Linked DNA regions of Homo sapiens: all the other regions are linked to region 3. The links are contacts of gene promoters, found by promoter capture Hi-C in blood cells and fetal thymus (Javierre and others, 2016). All regions are on one chromosome and are shown on one strand. Each heading gives the region's core, a stretch centred on a gene start or on the middle of the fragment in contact. The rest is flanking DNA. Distances are from core to core; before and after follow the strand shown. Region 1 overlaps GOLGB1 (golgin B1). Region 2 overlaps IQCB1 (IQ motif containing B1). Region 3 holds the start of FAM162A (family with sequence similarity 162 member A). Region 4 overlaps SEC22A (SEC22 homolog A, vesicle trafficking protein). Region 5 overlaps GOLGB1 (golgin B1). Region 6 holds the start of PDIA5 (protein disulfide isomerase family A member 5). Region 7 has its middle 4.0 kb from the start of SEMA5B.

Evidence for each region. Contacts are between HindIII fragments. The CHiCAGO score rates a contact against its expected background, and 5 or more counts as called.
Region 1: a fragment that was not itself captured here is called in contact with the fragment with the promoter of FAM162A in region 3 in 1 of 17 cell types (total CD8 T cells); the score reaches 5.1 in total CD8 T cells.
Region 2: a fragment that was not itself captured here is called in contact with the fragment with the promoter of FAM162A in region 3 in 1 of 17 cell types (naive B cells); the score reaches 5.6 in naive B cells.
Region 4: a fragment that was not itself captured here is called in contact with the fragment with the promoter of FAM162A in region 3 in 8 of 17 cell types (naive CD4 T cells, fetal thymus, naive CD8 T cells and 5 more); the score reaches 11.1 in naive CD4 T cells.
Region 5: a fragment that was not itself captured here is called in contact with the fragment with the promoter of FAM162A in region 3 in 1 of 17 cell types (neutrophils); the score reaches 5.9 in neutrophils.
Region 6: a contact is called between the fragment with the promoter of PDIA5 here and the fragment with the promoter of FAM162A in region 3, in 6 of 17 cell types (megakaryocytes, endothelial precursors, erythroblasts and 3 more). The highest score is 8.9, in megakaryocytes.
Region 7: a contact is called between a fragment that was not itself captured here and the fragment with the promoter of FAM162A in region 3, in 2 of 17 cell types (total B cells and naive B cells). The highest score is 9.8, in total B cells.

The regions. Positions count from the first base shown.
Region 1 is chr3:121,709,663-121,713,250 of GRCh38, reverse strand. All of the region lies in intron 10 of GOLGB1 (golgin B1), which reads left to right. Among named protein-coding and RNA genes, the nearest start is that of GOLGB1, 38 kb to the left of the region's middle. The HindIII fragment of the contact is 696 bases long and covers 903-1,598 here.
Region 2 is chr3:121,785,884-121,789,630 of GRCh38, reverse strand. IQCB1 (IQ motif containing B1) reads left to right here. Exons shown (of 15, transcript NM_001023570.4): 12 at 1,199-1,347. Among named protein-coding and RNA genes, the nearest start is that of GOLGB1, 38 kb to the right of the region's middle. The HindIII fragment of the contact is 1,641 bases long and covers 1,030-2,670 here.
Region 3 is chr3:122,382,926-122,386,354 of GRCh38, reverse strand. It overlaps FAM162A (family with sequence similarity 162 member A), which reads right to left and starts at 2,173. Exons shown (of 5, transcript NM_014367.4): 1 at 2,056-2,173. The coding sequence starts at 2,089. MIX23 (mitochondrial matrix import factor 23) reads left to right here and starts at 3,124. Exons shown (of 5, transcript NM_001017928.4): 1 at 3,124-3,181. The coding sequence starts at 3,131. RefSeq lists enhancers at 1,989-2,038, 1,862-2,362 and a silencer at 2,129-2,278. The HindIII fragment of the contact is 2,247 bases long and covers 1,394-3,429 here.
Region 4 is chr3:123,203,606-123,207,018 of GRCh38, reverse strand. The region is part of intron 1 of SEC22A (SEC22 homolog A, vesicle trafficking protein); the gene reads right to left. Among named protein-coding and RNA genes, the nearest start is that of SEC22A, 3.4 kb to the right of the region's middle. The HindIII fragment of the contact is 3,731 bases long and covers 1-3,413 here.
Region 5 is chr3:121,685,663-121,689,467 of GRCh38, reverse strand. All of the region lies in intron 14 of GOLGB1 (golgin B1), which reads left to right. Among named protein-coding and RNA genes, the nearest start is that of HCLS1, 27 kb to the right of the region's middle. The HindIII fragment of the contact is 9,188 bases long and covers 1-3,805 here.
Region 6 is chr3:123,065,018-123,068,525 of GRCh38, reverse strand. It overlaps PDIA5 (protein disulfide isomerase family A member 5), which reads right to left and starts at 1,501. Exons shown (of 17, transcript NM_006810.4): 1 at 1,320-1,501. The coding sequence starts at 1,361. RefSeq lists a silencer at 1,207-1,446. The HindIII fragment of the contact is 10,820 bases long and covers 1-3,508 here.
Region 7 is chr3:123,029,875-123,033,652 of GRCh38, reverse strand. No RefSeq gene overlaps it. Among named protein-coding and RNA genes, the nearest start is that of SEMA5B, 4.0 kb to the right of the region's middle. The HindIII fragment of the contact is 211 bases long and covers 1,874-2,084 here.

The DNA of each region.
Region 1 (3,588 bases), core at 1-2,500, 670 kb after region 3:
CTTTGCTGGGTCATAGAGTACCTATGTATTTAGCTTTATAAGGAACTGCCAGGTCTTTTCCCAAAGTGGTTGTACTATTTTTTTTTTCCAAGACGGAGTCTTGGTCTGTCGCCCATGCTGGAGAACAGTGGTGCGATCTCGGCTCACTGCAACCTCGACCTCCCGGGTTCAGGCAATTCTCCTGCCTCAGCCTCCCAAGTAGCTGGGATTACAGGTACCCGCCACCACACCCGGCTAATTTTTGTATTTTTAGTAGAGACAGGGTTTCACCATGTTGGCCAGGCTGGTCTCAAACTCCTGACCTCGTGATCCGCCCACCTCGGCCTCCCAAAGTGCTGGGATTACAGGCATGAGCCACCGCACCTGGCTGTGGTTGTACTATTTTATACTCCCACCTAAAATATATGAGAGTTCCATTTGTTCCACATCTTCTCCAAGATTTGGTGGTGTCAGTTTTAAAACATTTTAGCCATTCTAATGGGTATGTAGTGGTATTTCATTGTGGTTTAAATTTGCATTTCCCTGATGACAAATTATGTTGAACTTTTTTTCTTGAGATTCTTAGCCATATGTACACCTTCTGTTGGTGAAGTGTCTGTTCACATCATTTCCCCATTCTTAAATTTGAGTTGTCTTTTTATTATCAAGTAGGAATTCTTTATATATTCTGAATGCCAATCTATTATCATATATGTTTGGTGAATATTTTCTCCCATGCTGTGGCTTTGTGGCTTGCCTATTCATTTTCATTATGATATCTTTTCATTAGCACACACTTTTAAATTTTGATGAGCTTAATTATTTATCATTTTTTATTGTTTTTTTTTTCTGTGTCCTGTCTGTGAAACCTTTGCTTAGCCCCAGTTTATGAAGATATTCTCTTATGCTTTCTTCCACAAGCTTTATGGTTTTAGTTTTCATTTGAAGTCTCTGAATCTCAAATGAATTTTTGTGTGTGTTGTAAGGTGAAGGTCAAGTTGTTTTGTTTTTTCCTGTACGGATATTTCGTTGTTTCAGCACCATTTCGTAAGGAGACTTTACTTTCCTCATTGGATTCTTTTGGTACCTTTGTTGCAAATCAAAGACTAATACATCTATTTCTGAATTTTCTGTTCTGTTATATTGATCTATCTGTCAGTCCCTATGCCAGTATCACGGTCTTCATTATTGTAGTTTGTTGTTAGTCTTGAAGTCAAGTATTAATAGTATAAGTCCTCCAACTTTGTTCTTCTTTTCAAGATTGCTTTGACTATTCCAGGTCCTTTCCACATAAATTATACAATCAGCTTCTCAAATTCTACTTTTTAAAAAAAGACAGATGAGATTTTGAATTGGTATTGTGTGGAGTCTATTGATCAGTTTAAGAATTGACAACACTACTGTACTTTTAAATCTACGAATATAGTATATCTCTCCATTTATTTAGATCTTTAATTTCTTTCAGCAGTGTTTTGTAGTTTTCATTGGAGAAATTATGCACATTATAACATTTATTCTGAAGTAGTTAATATTTTTGATACTATTATAGATGGAATTATTTTTATTTCATTTTCCAATGTATGCTAATATGTAAGTATACAACTGAATTTTATTAAGCTTATATTCTGTGACCTTGATAAACAAATTAATTTTATTGGTTTTAGTCTCTTTTTGTAGATTCTCTAGGATTTTCTATGTAAGCAATCATGTCATCTGAAAATAAAGACAAATTTTACTTCTTTCTAATTTTTATGCCTCCAGTACACTGTTTAATAGAAGTGGTGAGACTGGACTTTCTTGCATTGTTTCTAATCTAAGAGGAAAGTGTTCCATAATTTACCATTGGCTGTGATACTAGTTTTAGGTTTTTAAGGAATTTCCTCTATCAGATCATCCTCAATCTTGTAGAGGAATTTTTCTCTTAGTTTTTTTGATATTTCTTAATTTTTTCTTAATTTTTAAAATAAACTTTCTCTTAATTTTTTTTTTATATTTCTAGGCTATGTGATTCTTCTATGAGTAATAACAAATGTCTAGTTGTAGCAATCCTCCTAAAAATTTTTCTATTTATTTATTTTTTGAGATGGAGTTTCACTGTTGCCCATGCTGGAGTGCAGTGGTGTGATCTCAGCTCACTGCAGCCTCCATTTCCCAGGTTCAAGTGATTCTCCTGCCTCAGCCTCCCAGGTAGTTGGGACTACAGGTGTCCACCAACACCCCCGGCTAATTTTTGTTACTTTTAGTAGAGACAGGGTTTTGCCATGTTGGCCAGGCTGGTCTGAAACTCCTAACCATACCTCCTAACCATTGGTGATCTACCCGTCTTGGCCTCCCAAAGTGCTGACATTACAGGCGTGAGCCACTGCGCCTGGCCTTTTTTTTTTCTTTTTTTAAAATTTTACTTATTTTTTTGTTTTGAGACAGAGTCACTCCATCACCCAGGCTGGGGTGTAGTGGTGTGATGACAGCTCACTGCAGCCTCAACCTCCTGGGCTTAAGTGATCCTCCCGCCTCAGCCTCCTAAGTAGTTGGGACTACAGGCACATGCCACCATGCCCGGCTATTTTTATGTGTTTGTTTGTTTGTTTATTTATTGGTGGAAATGGAATTTCATCATGTTGCCCAGGCTGGTACAGAACTTCTGGACTCAAGCAATCCCCCTCCCTTGGCCTCCCAAAATGCTGGAATTATAGGCATGAGCCACCACACCCAACCCCAATACATTTGTTGAAAAAAATGTGCATATATAAGTGAACTCATGTAGTTCAAACCCATATTCAAGAGTTAACTGTATTATCCTTTTTCTATAGTACTGAATTTGATTTGCTAATATTTTGTGAAGGATTTTTGTGTTCTTATTTATGAAGGATATTAGTCTACAGTTTTCTTGTTTTATGATATCTTTATCAGGTTTTGGTATTAAGGGTATGGCAGCCTCATAATATGTTCCCTTTTCTATTTTCTGGGAGTGTTTCCTTTCTTTCTATTTTATGAGAGTTTGTATGTGATTGGTATTATTTCGGTTTTTGAAAATAATTTTTTAAATACTTTTTTTTAAAAGAATTCACCAATGAAACCATCTGAGTCTGGAGTTTTAGGAAGGTTTTGATAATGAATTGAATTTCCTTTACAGATATAAGGCTAATAATAAGATTTTTTTTTTTTTTTCCACCCGGTGCCAGTTTTGGTTTGTTTGGGCTTTTTTTTTTTTTCCTGGGGTTTTGTCTATTTCATTGAAGATGTTCTAATGTTCTATTTTTGTCATAATGTTGGTTACAATGTTTACTTTTTATCCTTTTAATGCCTGTAAGCGCTGATCCCTGCTGTTGTTAATTTGTGCTTCATTTTCTTCATCAGTCTATCTAGAATTTATTCAGCTTTTTTCCCCCATCTTTTCAAAGAACCACTTTTGGTCTTGTTAATTTTCTCTGTTGCTGATTATTTTCATTTTCATTGATTTCTACTCTTTAGTATTTCTTTCTGCTTACTTGGATTTACTTTGCTCTTCTTTTTATAGCTTCTTAAGGTGAAACTTTGTATCAAAGATTTCAAGTCTTCTTTTCTCATATGAACATTTAAAGTTAACACAGTTCCCTCTAAGCATAGCTT
Region 2 (3,747 bases), core at 601-3,100, 600 kb after region 3:
TAGTGGTTTCAATATTATCTTCAAATTATTTTACCTGTCTTCTTGTTATTCAATCCAGGGTCCTTCACTAGCCCTTTATTTCACTTCATCTCCATTAAATATAGATGTTTTCTAGGGTTCCATCCTCACCTTATTCCTGTCATTTTTCTCTTCCTGGGGTATCCATCCATAACTGCAGCTCAACTCTCAGCTGAGTGCTGAGCAGTCTCAAATCTGGTCTCCATCTTCACCTACTCTCCTAAGCTCTTAGAGCAAAATTGCCCAAGATAAATTTTTACAAAAATGAAAGGTTGTATATCTGTACCATCCAGTAGGGTAGCCAGTGGCTAGAGATGGCTATTGAGTATTTGAAATATGGCTAGTGCACTGAAGGACCTGAATTTTAATTTTACTTTATTTTAACCCAAGTAGCCACTTGTGGATAGTTTCTACTCTATTGAATAACACACCTCTGTAGCCAACTGCCTATTGGATCCAGCTTTACCTGGATATCCACAGGCATCCCAAACACCAAAGTCATTATCTTACCCCTCAGATTTCCTTTTCCTTTATTCCCCATCTCAGGTAATGGCACCAACAACTTACTCAGTTTCCCATTTGAGACATCCTAGAGTCCTTTCCCTCTTTTACCTCCGTATCCAGTTGATCATTAAATTATATCAGTTTCTTATACTTCCCCAAATACGCCCCCCTTTTTATTAACAATTCTACTGCCTTATTCTGTCACATATATACTGTGAACCCTGGGCTGTATGCTGAGCAACTCCAAGAAAGCAAAAAGAAAGTCATCTGTATAACTGACTGAGTGACTTAAGAGAAATTTGGAAGCATGTAGAGTAGAGAACACATACACACATTTTGCCCTTTCCCTCTGGTGGTACTGAATGACTTCTTAATCATGTACTTAGGAATTTTTTTTTTTTTTTTTAGTGTTCTTTGTATTGGATTTTCAGCCATTTTCTTATTACTCTACCACAAAAATATTATATGAGTTCTTTCTGTGAAGAAGCTGCATAATCTGGGAAAGCTTTGTTTCTAAAATCTTAGAACCATGGTAAAATAGTAGAATTGGGAAAATTAGTGAACAATATTGACAAAAATAAAAAGAATGCAAGATTATTATTATCATTGTCCTGATTCCAGAACTTAAGAAAGCATGGCAGTGAGTATGTTGTAATAGTGTCTATCATCTTTTTAGGTCAGGTGGAGAAACACTATCGGGAAATGGAAGAGAAATCAGCACTGATTATCCAGAAACATTGGAGAGGGTACAGGGAAAGGAAAAATTTTCACCAACAGAGGCAGTCTCTCATAGAGTATAAAGCAGCTGTCACACTTCAAAGAGCAGTGAGTCTAATGTAGTGAAAAGAGCTCTGAATCAAGAGGCAAAAACATGAGTTCAAAACTGACTTTGCTAATTACCTGTTGTAAAGCCTTGGTCAAGACACTTAGTTTTCTTGAGCCTTAGTTTTTTCTTTTGTAAAAGAAAAACCCCTTACCTCTGGCCGAGCTGATTTAGACACTCAGTCCTTAGTACTGCCTTAGAACCTTGTACATCATTTACTATACTGCAATGTTGTTTTGTTAATTATTTCCCTTCTTACTTGGGCTGTGAGTTCTTCAAGAATAAGGAGCTAAGTCTTATTGTTGTCAGCTCATCACATGTGCTTGATGTATGAATAGATGTTTACCCTTACCCTTTTCACTCAGTTGTTATGTGGATCAGATACCCTAATTTATGGGAATGTATTTTGTAAATTACAAAGTTCTGTGCAAGTGCAGCATGTGATATTTGATTTTTTTAATGCACAGATGAGATATTAGGTATATTTAGATCATTATAACATTTTAATTGTAGAATTGTATTTTTTTTTTTTTTTTGAGACGGATTCTTGCTCTGTTGCAAGGCTGAAGTGCAATGGCACGATCTTGGCTCACTACAACCTCCGCCTCCCAGGTTCAAGCAATTCTCCTGCCTCAGCCTCCCGAGTAGCTGGGACTACAGGCATGCACCACCACACCCATCTAATGTTTGTATTTTTAATAGAGACGGGGTTTCACCATATTGGCCAGGATGGTCTCGATCTCTAGACCTCGTGATCTGCCCACCTCGGCCTCCGAAAGTGCTGGGATTACAGGCGTGAGCCACCGCTCCCGGCCTCTTATTCTTAAATAGCAATCTTTCTGTGATCTCTCTAGAGCATAGTACTATTTTGTTGCCTTGGAAAAGCATAGTACGAGGTGGTTTTTTAAATTTAATGACCAGTTTTCCTAACATCCCGTTGTTCTCTTATACATGGTTAACTTTCATATTAGGATTTCAGGTCCTATAGCATTTAGCTTAACAATCCTTACTGAATTTTTAGGTCAATTTCAGTTTTCTACTGTGACAGATTTTGAACAGTCTCTGTGATTAACTTTTTACAAAGTTTTTTTTTTTTAATCATCCAAAAAACATTGTAGAATAAATACTAGAGAAACAGGAAGAGATGCCTGTCTCCTACTCCTTCTTCAGGCTCTTCTGGGGATCTCAGATTGTGTCTGCAACAAACAATCCTGCACCATCACTGTATCACACGTACTCCTGATTTTTACTTTCTGCTAAACAAAGCCATCTAAGGGGTTAACCAGTTGATATTAGGGTTGGAGACACTTCCTTTGGAGGAAGCTTTGGCTTCTTTCTAATACTTTTACCTCATAAATACCTCCTTTTTAAAGTCTTCCCTGTCATAGAAATAGCTGGGTCCTTATTAGGTTGACTTACTACCTTGCCTGATTTAGATGACCCCAATACTTTGTAAAAGTATCCTGTACTGTAAAGTGAAATATCCTGGTTTGCCTACCATTTCTTAGAGAAAAAAGTAGGGGTCATCATAGGAACATATCTGAAGGCTACGAAGGCAAAGTTGTTTTGGCTTTTATACTTTCCATTGGCACGAAAGGAAGATTAGTCACATTTGCCTCATATCTCCTCTAGCTAAGAAAAGGAATGAGTCTCTGTTTAAGAGCAAAAAGGGATGGGTCAAGGTCATGTTTATAGTCTTTGCATCTCATTAATAAAAATAAGATGAAGTCAAAGCAAAGTTAGCCAAAATGGAAAAGGAAATAAGAGGATTACTTTTTTTTTTTTTTAAGAGACATGGTCTCACTCTGTCACCCAGGCTGGAGTACAGTGGTGTGTTCATAGTTCATCACAGCCTTGAACTCCTGGGCTAAAGTGATCCTCCTGCCTCAGCCTCCCTAAGTGCTGAGATTATAGGCATGAACCACCATGCCTGGCCAAGAATTACTTTCAAAGAAGGAAAAGAGAAAGAAAAATGGGAAAGTACACTGAGAAAATAAATAGAAAAATAGAGAAAATTAAAACAAGGCAATAGTCAATAAAGGGTACATTTTGCCATATTTTTAAAGCATCCTTTTCTTTTCTTTTCTTTTCTTTTCTTTTCTTTTCTTTTCTTTTGAGACAGAATCTCTCTCTGTCTCCCAGGCTGGAGTGCAGTGGTGCAATCATACCCCACTGGAGCCTTTATCTGCGAGGCTCAAGAGATCCTCCCACCTCAGCCTCCACAGTAGCTGGGACTACAGGCTTGCACCACCAGGCCCAGCTAATTTTTTTTTTTTTTCAGTAGAGACTAAGTCTCACTGTGTTCTCCAGGGTGGTCTCCAACTCCTGAGCTCAAGTGATCCTCCCACCTCACCCTCCCAAAGTGCTGGAATTACAGATGTGAGCCACTGCGCCTAGCCTAA
Region 3 (3,429 bases), core at 924-3,423:
CTGGTCTCAAACTCCTGGTCTCAAGCAATCCTCCAGTATCAGCCTCCCAAAGTGCTGGGATAGCAGGTGTGAGCCACCACATTGAGCCTACATTTCTATTTGATCTTTCATTCCTTTGGCTAAGGCTGCTTATTAAAGCAGTCTTCTTTCTTGAAAAGCCATTTGCACATGAAGGTGTACTTTCATTTCAGAACTAAATCTGCATTTCATGACTCTTCCATTTCAGATTAATGAGATCCAATTAGTCATGACAAATTCACACACGCACAGCCCCTGAATGAACAGCTTGAACAACAGCAAAAAGCACAAAAATTCCAGAATTAAAGGGTACCCTCTCCTGGCTCTAACATTTTTTGGCAAAGAGATCCTGGACAAGTCATCTCTGACCTATGTTTCTTCATTTATAAAGTGTGGGAGGAATAAGACTTACCTGAGAGGGCTGCTATGAGAAATCCATCCAACAAAATAATGTATATGAAAGTATTTAGCTATGAAGTGGGTGAAAGGTAGTAGGTTGTTGCGGAGTTGCTCACAAAGCATCAGACATTCGTGGAAGATCATATGGAGAGAGCTGCTCATATAACATCCTTAGTGTGCTATTAAAAATTTTATATCTGAAGTAAAATAAATTGTTCTTAAATCACTCAAGGAATTCTGCTTTGGTTAAGTGGTCAATAGTGAAGTTTTTACACATCAGAAGTTTGCAGAGATGCAAAAATATATTTATGCAAGATGCATAAATATATTCTCAAAGCAAGAAGATGAACTACTTACAATATACTCAGTATTAGTTCAAAGATGTCAAAGTAGTTCCAAGATGTCAAAGTTCTTTTCATGCAGTCCATTTTAACTTTTTTACAGAGCAATGATCCTTTCACTTGCCTTGTTGAAAAGCTTCATAATGTTAATAGGATGTACAGAAGATATTTTAGGTGAATTAGTTCAACAAAACTGACAAAATCAATGAAATCATAGTATTGAGGATTTTAGTGGAAGAAGTGTTTGCTTTTAAAGGAAGTAAATATAATAATACTCTCTAGTTTGAGACATGTTTTCCAGTCCATTCTCTACCGGAACACTAGATAAGCTGTGTAAAGGATAATCTTGAGGTGGGGAAGGTTATGTATCAAACTTGTGAAACTATGCAACATTCACTCTTTTTTTTTGCATTACTTCATTTACATTACAATATATATTTATATTATTTGAATAGCCAAGTTTGGGGCTATTTTTCCTTTAAAAATTTAATTAACAACTTTTTAATAATGTAGTGTGTGCCATTGAACAAAAGATCTCTGGTACCCAGAAAAGAGTCAAAATGCAAGCCCTCTGATTTCTCAACCCCTACTATGCCAAGGCTCTGCTGGTTCTCCCAAAAAAAAAGAATTAAGCTTTCATTACCTAAGTCCAAAATAGTCATCACACAAATGTCTACCACCAAAACAAACTGCAGATCCTTCAATTACACACTTCCTCCAAGAAATTCGAATCAATTAATTGTATAAGTGTTTAAAAGTAATGTATCCTCCATTTTAAGAAAACAATTATTATTAATCTCTAAGACCTAAATCCTTGGCCTAATCAGACATTTAATGAGTGGGGAAACTTCAGACTGGAGGTTTTCTGGGATAAACTCCAGAGAGGAAGGAGCAGGGGGAAGAGGGAAGACTCAAGGAGAGCAATAGATAGGGGAGGTTAGGGTGGAAAGCTGAATGCATGGGTAAAGGGGAGGTCTAGGGATAGTAGGTGCTTTACAGACTGAGCTCAGGGGAGGCTGAGGACGGGGGTGGGGAGAAGGGTAGGCGCGTGGGCAGTTAAGTTGGTGGGAGCTGGGTGGATGGAGATGAGGGTAATTCACGGGCAGTCTCCAATGCCTATCAGCAGCTGCTCACCTAGTTCCCTCCCACATGGCTACTAAGTAGGTAGGATTCTGAGGAACCGAGAAAGTGCGTCATGGAATGGAGCCACTCCGGGGCCCAGGAAGGCTTCAGGATTCCCCCACCCGCAGCGGCCGGGCCAGCTCCCCTACCTCCCATATCCCGACCGGCGTCTCACCTGCTGCCAGGCGCAGACCGCTGAGGCTCCCCATGGCCACTTGCTACTCCGCCGACCAGCGCAGAACTTCGCCGGGGACGGTGGCGCTGGTGAGCTCAATGTCACCCAGCGTTGGAGTGGGAAGGACGCAGGCGGCGCCGGGGGGCGGGGCGTGCGCGACGCGGTGTACAGGCCTGCGCCAGTGCGGGGCGTGTAGGACGTGCGCCACGCGCTGGAGACCCGCGGCGCCAGCCTAGTGCCCCTGGCGCCGCATCCTGAGCCAGCCTCGGAGATGGTCCTGTGGAGTGTGGCGCCGTGGGCCCTTGCCCTAGCGGATATGTACCCATGGGAGTACCTGTGTGAAATAGAAAGGAAATGTGCAACTTTCGTGATCTGTAAACTCCCGAAATACACCAGATAAACCAGTATTCCAGTATGCCGCTCTTCCAGTGTTTTCAATGAACATATGCTTTTATCAGAAAACACATAATTGGACTCTGCTCAGTGGCCCTATCTCTTGTTGGAGCATCCCTCAGGCTAATCTGAGAAATTAACATGTATGTTTTCAATTTGTTTTCTATTTACCTATTTTCTAAAAACATTTGATCATCTCCATCCTAAACACTTTACTCATACCCACCCACACTGCCAGAAATGCCGTTTTTTCTTGACGTTTCTTAGTGGTCCCAAATTCTTAACAAAGACCCCCCTGCTCCAGGGTCCGGGGAGGAGGTTAGGCACTGGAGTGAGAGGTATTAGAAAGGCCTCACTTGCCTAGATTTCCTTCAACGACCTGGTAGGGGAACCACAAGGAAATTGTTTCCCTTTTGTGAAAAGATGGGATTGGAGTAAACAGTCCCTTCAAGGTCTGACAATCTTTGATCCATGTATCTGGCCCAGTTCCAGGAGGACATGTTAAAAGGGTTGGGACAGCAGGGTGACAGGTTCCGAGGTGGATGCGGACCACGTTGAACTCAAGCCTTGCACTCAGCTTTCCTAAGGATTCCCCTCGTACTATATTTTTTGTCAGGCGACTCCGCGGTCACCTTTGCTCCGCGGTGATTGGCCTGCAGCGGGGTCCTCGTGTTTGTCCAATATGGCGGCGCCCAGTGGCGGTGTGAACTGTGAGGAGTTCGCCGAGTTCCAGGTGATGGGGTTTTCCTCATGTGGCAGGCATGTGCCTCCTTTTGTCCCCAGACCCTATTCCCTGCTTTGCGAGGGAGTATGAACCAGCTTTGGAAAAAGCGGGCAATTCAAAGCTCTTTTCTCGAGCCATTGGAGGTCATGGGGGGCGCGGGTTTGGCCTTAGGGAGCGAGGCTGCTCTGTAGGAGGAGGGAGGAGGGGGGTCATAGTTCTCTCCGCGGCTCTCCGGCCTTGTCTGGGAAGCTCTGGGT
Region 4 (3,413 bases), core at 341-2,840, 820 kb before region 3:
CCTCCCAGATTCAAGCAATTCTCATGCCTCAGCCTCGCGAGTAGCTAGGATTACAGGCATGCGCCACAACACCCAGCTCATTTTTGTATTTTCAGTAGAGATGAGGTTTCGCCATGTTGGCCAGGCTGGTCTCAAACTCCTGGCCTGAAGTGATCTGTCCACCTCAGCCTCCCAAAGTACTAGGATTACAGGCATGAGCTACCACGCCCAGCCTCTCCATTCATTTAAAGAGAAAAATATCCAGAAGCAAATTAGTCTTTTTACTACAGTGGAGTCTTCAAACTGAAGTCCCAGTGTGACATATCCCAATTGGTGTTTTTTTCCATTCATCTAGTTTTTTTCTCTCCTAAAAGCAGTAGCATGAAAAAGTTGGGATCCCTGAAGAGATATCTATACTATAAACCCCTCTTTAATTTTTTTTTTACCATGTTTTACTTAATTATTAAATCACAATTGTAACATTTAGCCTAAGTGTAAGAAAGTAGGAAAATGTCTTACTCTATCCCCTTAAGCGTTTATTATTTAACTATAAAACTGTTGTCTTTCCAGAAGTACACTGCAACACAATAACCATTCTGGGAATTAATTTGAGGGTGAGTTGTAACTTGCAGTTCTAAATACCCACATTTTAGTATTTAAAAGCAGATTGGATGGGGTGCCATGGCTTATACCCATAATCCCAACACTGCTTGAGGCCAGGAGTTCAAGACCAACCTAGAAACATGGTGAGGCTCTGTCTCTATAAAAAAAATTAAAAATCAGCTGGGCATGGTGGCACACGCCTATAGTACTTGCTTTGGGGAGGCTGAAGCAGGCCCAGGAGTTCAAGGCAATGGTGAGCTATGATTGTGCCACTGCAGTCCAACCTGGGTGATGAGAGAGATCCTGTCTCAAAAAGTAAAATAAAAGTAGACTGTATTATTTTATGTCTGGCCTCTCTAGGATCCTAATAGAAATATTATGAATAGACTTCATTAATAGGTTGCCAAATTTCATGTAGTCTTCAAAGTTATTCTTTAGTGACTTGGAGGACAGATCAATAAATATATGATCCATGCTTTCTAAAACACATACTGTAAAAAGAATACAATTTGTAAGTTCCATTCGTTTACCAAACATTTACTGAATATCTAATGTGTCCCATGAATTATGCCAGATAGCAGGAATGAAGAGTCCTACCATCAAGAAACATCACTCCTCAATTAGAGAAACTCAGTTGAAAAGAGCAAACAATGCAGGTGTGTTGCCCACCACTTCACTAACTGGAAAACTAAAGTTGGACAAACTTACATTTCAAATACTCCTTTTTTTGTTGTTTTTTTGTTTTGTTTTGTTTTGTTTTGAAACAGGGTCTCACTCTGTTGCCCAGGCTGGAGTGCAATGGCTCACTGCAACCTCTGCCTCCCAGGTTCAAGCGATTCCCCTGCCTCATCCTGCCAAGTAGCTGGGATTACAGGTGCCCGCCACCATGCCTGGCTAATTTTTGTATTTTTAGTAGAGATGGGGCTTAACTGTGTTGGCCAGGCTGGTCTCAAATTCTGACCTCAAGTGATCCACCTGCGTCGGCCTCACAAAGTGCTGGGATTACAGGTGTGAGCCACTGCGCCCAGCCTCAAATTTTCCTAATATGTACTTTAGCCTTTAACCAAAAGCAGAACACAGTAGTTACATTCCCTGTCAAAATTATTACAAGGTTGTCAGAGAATGGTTTCTACTTATCCATAGATAAGATTTTTCTTAGGGAAAAAATTAAACCTCTTTCTACCACAGTAATTTGATTCAGCATCCAAAGCACTTGAATTTAAGCCTGACAAACGGGGATGAATGTCCAATGATCAACGTCAGGCTTAACTAATTTGTAGACAGATTCCAACCACCTTAGGCTAAGCTGTCTCTCCATCAATTCAATAAACATACCCCTACTTTTTTTCTTTTTACCACGGATTCATAATATAGTTTGTTTTTTTTTAAACTAATCTTATCTGGACTGTGCTAGCAGAAAAGGAAATCTGTCCATGTCAGGCCTAAGCTAGGTTAAAGTATCTTTAAGGTCTTAAGGAGGGTTGTGGTTGGGAAAATCCCAAGGAAGAACCAGTGGAACTGTGGAAAGCAAGAGATTACAACAATTGCATGGGAAGATTTAGGAGTTTTTAGCTTATCGGGGCCATAGATAAATGTTTAGGGCACTGGGCCATTTCTCCTCACCTTTAATACAGAGAAAATATTACACCTGCCTTTGTACAGCAGCAGTTAACTCACAGGGAACCTGAATAGTGGCTATTTTTTCCTCTCCCCATCAGCAACTGTTGGAGGAAAAAGCACAAGCTAGAATCTAGGTAAATCTGGGTAAACTTTTATGTAAAGGCTGAGGAAAATAAATTCCCACAATGCCAAACTACTATAGTAGTGGTTAGCAAGTTCCTGGACCCAAGATAATAAGACACCCCTCTTCTTCAGAACCTTGTAGGGGTAATGACTACAGGCTCAATGTCTCAGGAAGTTATCTCTCAAAAGGTAATAAACAAAGCCCAACATGTAAGTGGATTTTGTATATACGTTCTAACCAAATGCTTTCACAAATGCCACTTTTAAGATAAAAACATTTTATACTGGGGGCAAAAGCACTCATATTTATTTTAGTTCATAACTTCCCAGTCTTCAGTCATCCAAGTACCACTTTCAGAATTATCTTCATCCACCTGTACTATTTACCTAATATTGGTCTTTGAATTGACTTACTTTTCTTGTCCTTTATTTTTTAGCAATAATATCTGTGAAATCAGTTTTGAGATGTTAAGTTTTTCTCCTAATTTAAATTAAATGAACTTGTTTCATTCAAATATGTATGTGTGTGAAAATTTGGGGAGAATTTTTTAATGTTCATTTGCTTATCAAATTATCTTGCATATGTGACAGTACCAAAGTTTGGGAAACAATACCAATATGGTACATATTATTTTATTAAAAGTGCTCGCTGAGGGTGGGGGATAGAGTGGGTGATAAAGGGGATGGAATTTCCGCCATTTTGCCTATGCCTTCTACCTCACTAGCAGTGTTCGACATTCCTATTATGGGTGCTTGCACTGCACAGTATGTATAAGACCTCAGGCTTCACAACAGATTTTACCCACATCTAGGACAGGGCCCCCAATACATGCTCAAATGTGTCAATCCCAACATTTTTATAGTGCCACATAGTTCACGGTTGGGTAGGTAAAACCACCATTTTACAGATGAGGAAACTAAGGCTCACTTTCTCAATGTCACACTGCTAGTATATAGCAGAACTGGTACTTCGGTCTAAGTTTCTAGTATCTCTACATCACTATGCTTCATCAGTCTCCCAAAACCAACAAGACACAAGAAACCAGGGATATAGAAACTATCTATTCACTTGCTGCCTGGGTTCTAAT
Region 5 (3,805 bases), core at 987-3,486, 700 kb after region 3:
CTCTTAACGAGCATGCTGCCTTCAAGCATCTGTTTAACAAAGCACATCTTGCACCGCCCTTAATCCATTTAACCCTGAGTGGACACAGCACATGTTTCAGAGAGCACAGGGTTGGGGGTAAGGTCACAGATCAACAGGATCCCAAGGCCGAAGATTTTTTCTTAGTACAGAACAAAATGAAAAGTTTCCCATGTCTACTTCTTTCTACACAGACATGGCAACCATCCGATTTCTCAATCTTTTCCCCACCTTTCCCCCCTTTCTATTCCACAAAACCGCCATTGTCATCATGGCCCGTTCTCAATGAGCTGCTGGGTACACCTCCCAGACGGGGTGGCGGCCGGGCAGAGGTGCCCCTCACCTCCCGGACGGGGCGGCTGGCCGGGCGGGGGGCTGACCCCCCCACCTCCCTCCCGGACGGGGCGGCTGGCTGGGCGGGGGGCTGACCCCCCCACCTCCCTCCCGGAGGGGGTGGCTGCCGGGCGGAGACGCTCCTCACTTCCCAGACGGGGTGGTTGCCAGGCCAAGGGGCTCCTCACTTCTCAGATGGGGCAGTTGCCAGGCGGAGGGTCTCCTCACTTCTCAGACGGGGCGGCTGGGCAGAGATGCTCCTCACCTCCCAGACGGGGTCGCGGCCGGGCAGAGGCGCTCCTCACATCCCAGACGGGGCGGCGGAGCAGAGGCGCTCTCCACATCTCAGACGATGGGCAGCCGGGCAGAGACGCTCCTCACTTCCTAGATGGGATGGCGGCCGGGCAGAGACGCTCCTCACTTTCCAGACTGGGCAGCCAGGCAGAGGGGCTCCTCACGTCCCAGACGATGGGCGGCCAGGCAGAGACGCTCCTCACTTCCCAGACGGGGTGGCGGCGGGGCAGAGGCTGCACTCTCGGCACTTTGGGAGGCCAAGGCAGGCGGCTGGGAGGTGGAGGTTGTAGCAAGCCGAGATCACACCACTGCACTCCAGCCTGGGCACCATTGAGCACTGAGTGAACCAGACTCCGTCTGCAATCCCGGCACCTCGGGAGGCCGAGGTTGGCGGATCACTCGCGGTTAGGAGCTGGAGACCAGCCCGGCCAACACAGCGAAACCCCGTCTCCATCCAAAAAATACGAAAACCAGTCAGGCGTGGCGGCGCGCGCCTGCAATCGCAGGCACTCGGCAGGCTGAGGCAGAAGAATCAGGGAGGGAGGTTGCAGTGAGCCGAGATGGCAGCAGTACAGTCCAGCTTTGGCTCGGCATCAGAGGGAGACCGTGGAAAGAGAGGGAGAGGGAGACCATGGGGAGAGAGAGAGGGAGAGGGAGAGGGAGAGCGAAAATTCTAATTTTTAAGATGAGCTCTAGTGAAAAGATTATTACCCCTAACTGTAGAGTGAGTTTTTCCTTTTTATTGTAGGTAATTGTATTCATTCCTATCTCACTTAATATCCCATATTTATAGACAGTCTTTCCCCTTTTGTAATCCGAACAAAGCCTCTCTGTTCAGTTATGGTTTTTACTTCCAACATACACATACTTGTTTATATTTTTTAAATAATTTGAGTTTAGCTGACTTTGCCCTGGGAGCTTGGCCTTTTGTCTGTCTTTTCAGACCGTAAATGCAAAAGGTTCTATTCATCAGGATGGTATGTGCCTCAAAGCTGTAATTTATGATATGCTGGTATTGATTATCTTCTAAGTCAAAATCTTTTTTCATGGAGCTGTTAGGATAGATTCTGAATTAGCTAACTATGTTTAATTCAGTGAATTGCTTTATTATTCTTATCTGTTATAAACACTAGGCACTAAACTTTGCACATTTTTGTCTGCTGGATAGTTACAGCCAAGCCAACTTTTTTATTTTCGTGTTTCTGTAATTCAGAGTCATATTATTCTGTTCCCAAATGCTCATAACTGTGATTTTATTTTAACCATCAAGATGTATCACTCCTTTATTCACAGTGTGCCTCAAGTATTTTTATTTTCCATCTTCAACATCCTAAGATAAGCTCTAACACTTTACCCTTAAACTGTTCTAATAATGTTGCTTCCAGGTTATCATCTCACCAGTATTTTCAGACCATCACCATATAAGTCTTTCTGAAACTCTACTGTATTACTGCACTACTCAAAAATATTTAAAAGTTGTACTATCTCTAGAATAGACTTAGTATTCAAACCCCCTTTAGTCTGGCATTTAAGACCCTGTTTTTTTGTTTGTTTGTTTTTTGAGATGGAGTCTTGCTCTCTCACCCAGGCTGGAGTGCAGTGGTGCAATCTTGGCTCACTGCAACCTCCGCCTCCCAGGTTCAAGCAATTCTCCTGCCTCAGCCTCCCAAGTAGCTGGGACTACACCATGCCTAGCTAATTTTTGTATTTTTAGTAGAGATGGGGTTTCACCATATTGGCCAGGCTGGTCTTAAACTCCTGGTCTCAAGTGATCCACCTGCCTCGGCTCCCAAAGTGCTGGAATTACAGGCGTGAGCCACCACACCTGGCCAAGACCCTGTAATTTATCCATACCTTTCCAGCGTTCCCTTTTACTGCTCCCTACTCATACCCTTCATTCACACCAAACTGATCTACTCAGTATGCAATAATCACACCTGGTACTTCCTACTTACCCATATTATCTTCAGCAGCCAAAATGTTCTCCCAATTGCTTTCCTTTTTTGAGTGTCTATTTCCCACTATTTAAAGGTCATTCCAGAGCTCAGATCCTCTTCTTACATTTCGTGATTGCCTGATTGTCTTTTGCCTTTGTACTTCCCTAGTATTTTACTTATCATTTGTCCCATATTGCCTTATTGTGTGTGTGTGTGTGTGTATATGTTTAATTTCTGTACACTATTTTTTATTTCCCCAATTAGATTGCAAACTCCTGGTAAGTGTCATGTCTTATACTTATTTGTACATCTTTAGCATAGAACTGACTAAGCAGATGACATATCTCTAGGGGTGCCTGTATTTATCTATACTCTCCTCATTCTGAAAATGACTTGGGGTAGCATATAAAGATATAAACAATTTTTCAAGATAAAATAAAAGGGACTGAGAAGGAGGAGAAAAAGAGGATAGGCTAGAAAAAGATCAAACCAGGAGTAAGGTTAGTGTCCCAAGGGGAAGTCACCATATCCTGTACTGTGTTAGAAAGAGGGATCCATAGTTTGCTCTGAGGTTTCTATTAGCCATCAGAAAGAGGGAATGAAAACCGCATGCATGAACTGCAGTATTTATAGTCTAGGAGAAAAGGAGAAAGAAAAATCACCTACTCAAGACAAGAATAGTCTTTAAGTATTGAGGCCTGTAAGAAATTTCTTCTGTGTTCCCATAAAGAGAACACTGTGCAGTTGTGAAACATCCATTACTTCTCTACAGTAAATATAATAATGTGTTTTTTAGGGTTTTTATTTAGCTGTCCCTTAATGTAAGTGCAGAGCAAAAGAATTACGTCCAGTTCACTAAAACTACCACTCCAAGGAGCTAAAATGCAGTCCCAGGCACACAGCTTTCTGATGGTCCATTCTAGGATACCTCTAGTCTAGTATCTAGACTAGAGGAGTGAGTGGATTGCATAAAGGAATATGTTTTTACCTTAAATCAAAACAAAAATATGTTTTGGGGTTTGGGTTAAAAATAAAGTTATATGACCCATATTTAATTAGTCACTAAATTCTACAATGTTTGGTGGGAAAAGCTAAGAGTAGCACTACCTCAACCCCATTTCTTCTGAGGCAATTTGCTTTCAACCCTTTTAGCTTATTCTTTCAGTATTTCCTGTGTATGTAAATATCATGCTTATATTGCATTTTTGGCTCTTTGTTGCATC
Region 6 (3,508 bases), core at 252-2,751, 680 kb before region 3:
GCCCAGACCAACTGGCTCCAGGGAACTGATGGCAAACCAGCATTCAACAAACCCAGACGCAATTAAGTGACACTGCCCCACTCCAGCCTGGTTCTCCCCAAGAGGGAGAACACAGACCGAAGAGAACAGGGGGCTTCTTTCCCCACCCACTTCCAACCAGAGAGTACCAGGCCACTCCTCACTGGTGATCCAAAAGGCCAGGGTATTGGGAGATGGAAGTGTTTCAAGCAACTCAACCCACACTTTTCTCCTCCCATTTGCCCAGTGTCCTTGCCACACCCAAATGGAAAAGAACGGGAAAATCTGGGTTGGGGGGAGGGTGCCAGGAACAGGAAGTTCCCTGGAACTTCAGGGGAAAAGGACCAGGATGGTCCTAAAATAAGGGAGCGCATAAGTTATGGAAAAGATGGGGAAGGAGGCCACAATATCTCATCACACACCCACAGCGAAACGAAGGCCAAACCCCAGACCTGGGCCGGCAGGCACACCCATTCCGACCTCTCTCAGGGATGCCTGGAGTCCCCCCCACCAAGTGTAGCAAACTACTCTTGGAGTCCACTCCTTTTCCACTTTTGTAAGATTTTGCAGTTTACACAGCTTCCTCCACTGAGACCTCATCCGACTCTCAGAACCACCCTATGGGGGTAGCTTTGCCTTTCTATATCATGCATGAGGAAACTAGCTCAGATACATTAAATGAACCGCCGCGTCACACAGCTAGAAAGTGGCTGAGGCTCGAGCCCGCCTCAGTTGGGTGTAGGAGCAGCTCCTCCGCCGGGGCGGGCTACGTCGACCCCACCCAGCCCACCGAGCCTGGCCTGTGGGCGGAGGCCCAGGTGGTGGCCCGCAGTTTCCCAGACGCCTGGGGCCGAAGCCAAGAACAAGGTGGCCCTAAACCAAGGTTTCCGGCAGTGCAGGTAGTAAGCACCCCCATCCCACCCCGCACTCACACAGGTGCAGGGCTCGGAGTCTGGAGCGGAGCTCACCCCGCAGCCCGCCGGCGTCCTGCCCGACCGGCTGTGCCCCGACCTGCATCCCCGCAAAGTTGTGGCCGTGGCGTAAGCACCCTGCCAGGGATCTCCCGGCGCCCCACAGCTGCCTCCTGCCCCTGCGTCCGGGAGCGCTTGGCGGCGAGGGCACCGGGACGCCCGCTGTCTCCCGCGTAGCACCCAGTGCCCGCCTGCCTGGCATGCACGCCCTCATCCCGGTGCCCCGGGGCAGCTCCCCGCACGTTCCGCAGAGGGCTGGAGCAGAGAGCGCAGAAGGGCACGCGGGACACACGTGCTGGCCCGGCCCGGATCCCTGCCCCACAGTCTCACCCAGATTGCCAGCAGCAGCCACGCCGGCCCGGCCCGCGCCATCCCAGCAGCGCTGCCCACCGCTGGCTCCTTTCTCCACTCCGGCGCCCGCTCCCGCCCGCCCGCCTGCTAGCTCCACCGCGGCCAACCACCACGGCCACTTCCCAGCCGCTCCCCGCCTCCGAGTTCCCGGTGCCACGTCTGCCAAAGCATGCGCAGCAGCTGGGGAGAGGCGGCCGGGAAGAAGTGCTCGCTGGGAGTTGTAGTCTGCAGCCTGGCTCAGCTGGGGGCTGCGGGTGCGGACTGGGCTCCGAGGCCACGTGGCAGCGAGTGAAGTGCGAAAAGGCAAGGTCAGGGAGTAAGGGAAGGCAATTAATGAGCGGGGGCTTACTCTGTGCCTGGAGCTTCAGAAACAGTATCTCACGCAGCTCACAGAAATTAGGTTTTATTTTCTCCACTTTGAGGATTAGGAGGCAGCGCAGGGAATTTAAGTACGTTGATCCAGATCACACAGCCGGTAAATGGCAGAGTCCAGGGCTGCCTGTGAAGGACAGGAAAAGCCCTCATCCCTGCCTCCCAGACTCCCTCCTGCTTATTCTATTTAACTTCAGTAAAACATTATTGAGCTGTTGGAAAACAATCTGGTGGTTCCTCAAAAAGTTAAACATAGATTACTATATGACCAGCAATTCCACCCTTAGGCTAATACCCAAAAGAATTGAAAACAGGTATTCAGACAAATGCACGTACACCAGTGTTCACAGCAACACTATTTACAATAACCAAAAGGTAGAAACAACTCTAACGTCTGTCAAAGGATGAATGGGTAAACAAAGTGTGATACATCCATCTAATGGAATGTTATTTAGCCATTAAAAGGAATAAAGTGGCCCAGCAGGGCAGCTCATGACTGTAATCCCAACACTTTGGAAAGCTGAGGCAGCAGAATCGTGTAAGACTAGGAGTTTGAAACCAGCCTGGGCAACATAGCAAGACCTCATCTCTGCTAAAAATAAAAATAAAATAAAATAAAATAGCTGGTGTGGTGGCAAGGGACTGTAGTTCCAACTACTTGGGAGGCTAAGGCGGGAGGATTGCTTGAACCTGGGATATGGAGACTGCAGTGAGCCAAGATCATGCCACTGCACCCCAGCCTAGGCCACAGGGTGAGACCCTGTCTCAAAAAAAAAAAAAAAAAAAAAGGTGGGGGGGAGAGAATAAAATGCTAATACATTCTACAATGAATGAATCTCAGAAATGTATGCTAATGAAAGAAGCCAGACACAAAAAGTCACATATGATGTGATTACATCTTATGAAATATTTAGAATAGGTAAATCCACAGAGACAGAAAGCATAGTAGTGGGGGTGGGGAGGAAGGAATGGGGAATGACTGCTTAATGAGTATAGGGACTCCTTTGGGAGTGATAAAACATTTTGGAACTAGATGGAGATGATGGTTCCACAACATTGTGAAGGTACTAAATGCCACTAAACTGTACACTTTAAAATGGTTAATTGATGTTATGTGAATTTTACCTGAGTAAAAATTTTCAAAAGAAAAAAACTCTTTATTGAACCCATTCCCTGTGCTAAAGCAGGGGTCCCCAAACGCTGGGCCTCTGGACAGTCTGTGGCCTGTTAGGAACCAGGAGGCAAGCTGTGGGCCAGCGAGCATTACCACCTGAGCTCTGCCTCCTGTCAGATCAGTGGTGGCATTAGATTCTCATAGGAGTGTGAACTCTATTGTGAACTGCACATTCAAGAAATCTAGGTTGTGGGTGCCTTATGAGAATCTAATGCCTGATGATCCGAGATAGAACAGTTTCATCCCAAAACCATCCCCTGTCCCCCCACCATCTGTGGAAAACTTGTCTTCCACAAAACCGGTCCCTGGTGACAAAAAGGTTGGGCCCTGCTGTGCTAAAGCATTCTTGCATGCAGTCAGTTCATACATTCAAGAATGTTTATTGAACACTTACTATGTCCTGAGGCTCAAGATATCCAGTAGTGAGATGAACAAGAGAACAGCACAGTCAGAGGTTGGTAAGTTATAGCTGAAAGGTCCTTGCCTTCTGTCAGGAGAGTCAAAGCTCAAAACTTAGAAGTTATCCATTACTCGCTTCCTATTCACAACAGGCCCATCCAACCCCTCACCACATCCTGTCAATTTTACCTCCAGAATATATCTCTCCTGCCACCTCCCAAGT
Region 7 (3,778 bases), core at 730-3,229, 650 kb before region 3:
GGCATGAGCCACCGCGCCCGGCCCAGATCCTTTTTTTAATGGGATACAGATCTCCTTCTGGGAACACTGCTTTAGGTGACCTTGGCCAACGCCCATCCTGTCCTGATCTTATCCAGGACCTCTGTGGCTTCACGCTGGTCCTGGGAGATAATCACAGACACAGATCTCTAGTGTTCAAATGCCTTCAAGAAGGGTGACCACACCTTATGTTCTTCCTTGGGTCTAAACATCCGAAGAGTTGCCACTGTCTTCCTTGCCTGGAGTTGAGCCCTTGGACTTGACCCTTTATCCTGCTCATCTGCCAGGAAGCCTGGTGTCATCCCTGAACCAGCCATGCCTCTGATCTTCACAACCCATACCTCACTTCCTCTTGATTTATCCTCAGCCCAAATCTGACAGTCTGTGCCAGCTGAGCAGGAAAGAGGAAAGCAGAGAGGTGCTTATGAGTGCTCAGGAAGAGAGATGTGATTACCCCTGGGTGTCAGCCCGAGGCCAAGCTACAAAGCCTGCCTTCCCAATCTCTCACCACACCCTTGACTTAGGACTGTATGAAGAAAAACTAGAAATGTAACACAGGGAACAAAAATGGTTCCAGAAAAATTGCGTGTATGTGGGATTGATGAACACTTTTTGTGGGTTTCAGAGCTAATTCTCCCCTCTGTTGTGATTTGGAATGCTGCAGGTGGTTAACTGGGTTGAAAAACAATTAGCATGTTTTACTATAATATACATTTTCTATTAAAGAGTTTTTAAGTGCTAATATAAATATTAACTAATAAGCAATTGGAGAAAAAAATTTATATGGAAAAATCTCAGTTCAAGCCTAGCTCTGAAAATTACCAATTGCATCCCTGATTCCTATCTGTAAAATGAGGATAATAATCATTCATTTATTAAATCATTATTTTGTACCTTTAAAAGAAACCACCAAACAAACAAAAACCAAGCCCTGTTCTGTAAGCTGGGGCTATAGTGATGAACAAAGCAGGCAAGGCCTCTGCTCCTGTGGAATTTATATTCTGGTCAGGGGAGACAGACAATAAATATGTACAATGTCAGATGGTGATAATGACAAGTATTTGTCATTTTTGAAAAGATGGTAATACATCTCTGATGAATTGATATTTGAGCAGAGATTAAAGGAAGTGAGGAAATGACCTATGTGGACATTTGGCAAAAGAGCTTTCCAGGCAGAGAGAGCATCAAGTACAAAGGCCTTGAGGTGAGAGCCTTGGGTGTGTGAGGAATAGCAGAGAGGCTGGGGAAGCCTGAGAGAAGTGAGGATAGGGAGAGCGCTAGCAGATAATGTCAGACAGGCCTTGTGGGGCTGCTAAGGCTTTTTCTCTAGAGAGCTGGGGAGCCATAGAAGGTTTTTGAGCAGAGGAGTGATAGGATCTGAATTAGGACAGCTTCCGTGTGGAGAACAGACTGTAGGTACAAAGGTTAGAAATGGCAGAGCAAACATCCAGGGGAGAGAAGAGAGTGGTTTGAACTAGGGCACAAGTAGAAGAGGTGGGGAGAAATGGTAAGATTCTGAAAATATTTCAAAGATAGAGACGACAGGATTTATGGATGGTCTGAATGGAGGGTATGAAATGACTTCAAGCTTTTGACCTTGAGGAACTGGAAGAATGGAGTTTTTACTTACTAGGATGGGGAAGACTGAGGGAGGAGCTGGCTTGGAAAAACAAATCAGAAGTTAAGTGTTGGGTATGTTAAGATAGAGATGTCTCTTAGATGGTCATGCAGAGGAGGGGCAGGCAGTTGGTTCTATACATCCAGATTTTAAGAGAGAGCGAGAGGGCCGGAGCTGCAGATACAAACTTGGGCATCATCCGCACAGAGAGGTTTACAGCCAGTGACTGGACAAGCTTATCTAGGTCTTCAGTGTAGCTGTCTCCCTCACATGGCTGTGAAGGTCAAAGGGGATAGTATATGGCAAATAGTTTTGTAAACTGTAAAGTGCTATACACAAGGAAAGGAACAAGTGTGCAAATACGGTAAAGAGCATAATGTAGAGCAGGATTTAAAGAAGTATCTTCAGGTAGAGACAGAATCATAGAATACATGTGCAAGGAGAAGCTTACAAACCAGTGGATCAACCCCTTTCATTTTATCCAGGAGGAGCTAAGGTTGGAGAGATTAAGAGGCTTGTCCAAGGACACTCAGCTCATCAGTGGCCCAGCTCATCCTAGGACTGGGGAGCCCTAACTGCTGGTGCGGTGCTCTTTCCACCACATGAAACACCTGCTCACATTTACTGCTTCAGCTCTCTCTGAATCTGTTAACCAGGGGCAAGTAATTCTTCAAACAGAAATCTAATTATATCGCCTTGTGCTTTTATACATGCTACTTCCTCTGCCTGGAATACTCTGCCTCCTCCTGCTTCTCTGTCTGGCAAATTCCTGCCTTATCTTCCATTCTCAGCTAGAATGGCCATTTCCAATGAAGACTTCTTTGTCCTGTTTGGTAGGATGGTAACTGGCTCTCCATGTGCCCGCAGAGCTCCCATCCTGTGGCAGTCCTTGCATTTGCTATGATTACGTCTGCCTCCCCTGCCTGCCTGTGAAGCTCTTCCTATGACCTCTCTGCCTAGCTTAGTGAGTGACACTTAAATGGGAAGGAAGGAAGGAAGGAAGGAAGATCTCTTCTTTCACATTAGTTCAGGACAATGGCAAAGCAGTCATTCAGTGACACTTCAGTTCCTCTGACCTGAGCAAGGTTTTGGTTCACAAATTGACAATGACTTCTGGGGTGGGAATTTTCTTTTTTCTTTGCCATCCCCAGGCACAATGAGCAGGCAATTCTGGGAGCAGAAAACAATTTGGACATTATACGTGCTGTCTTTTTATTTTCAATTCTCTGTCTCCTATTAGTATATGACTGGCTGTTTGCCTTTTGCTGCAAGACAAGGTTTGTGTTTGTGCCTGGGCTATGCACAAGCATGTGTACACACACACACACACATAGAGGGGAGAGAGAGAGAGAGAGAGAGAGAGAGAGAGAGAGAGAGAGAGAGAGAGAGAGAGATGGCCTCTTGGGAGAGCCTGCACTCATTTTTTAGCTTTATCTCCCAGAAAATGCCCTCAGGTGGGAGGAAGAAGACAGTGTTGTGCTCCTAGCTTTTCCACCCTTTCCTGCTCTTGAGCATGAGAATTTGGATCTATTTCTTAAACTCTTTCAACCTTAGTTCAAGATAAGTTTGGAATTTCTAGGTCAAGAGTGAATCCTAAAAACTCCGTCACCCCCTATATTCACCGCTCTTTAGCTTGTTTGCTTGAGATAACACTGTGTTAATTACTATATTTCCATTCTGCTTAATTACAATGTTTCGGTAGAAGAAGAATTGCTCCTAACAGAAGCAATTATCTTATAGGTTATTGCAAAGGTCTAAGGAAGGTGGCAGAAGCTGGTTGTGATACTGTGGTGATGGAATCAATGCTCCAGGTTTTGTTCCAAGTAAATGATTCAGAGATTCTAACCAGGCTGGGTTTGCCAAAGAGCAGGTGGTAAGCCAGGCCAGTAAAGAAACTGTCTCTTCCGGAGGGTTGGGCTTCTGAAGCTCTCTTGTATTGAGAGCTCTTGAGTAATCACTGTTAATCAATACAATGCTTTAGGATGCAATTAGGATTAATTAGCCCAATGTTGCTAGCTGCCCTGCTACTTGGTCTGTCTCTTTGGGTGCCTCCTTGTCCTGGCTCCTGCTTCCCCTGAAAAGGAAAATTTCCCTCTTTGTGTCCCCAGCCTGGAGTCTCCTCTCTTCCCTTCCTGTGCCAAG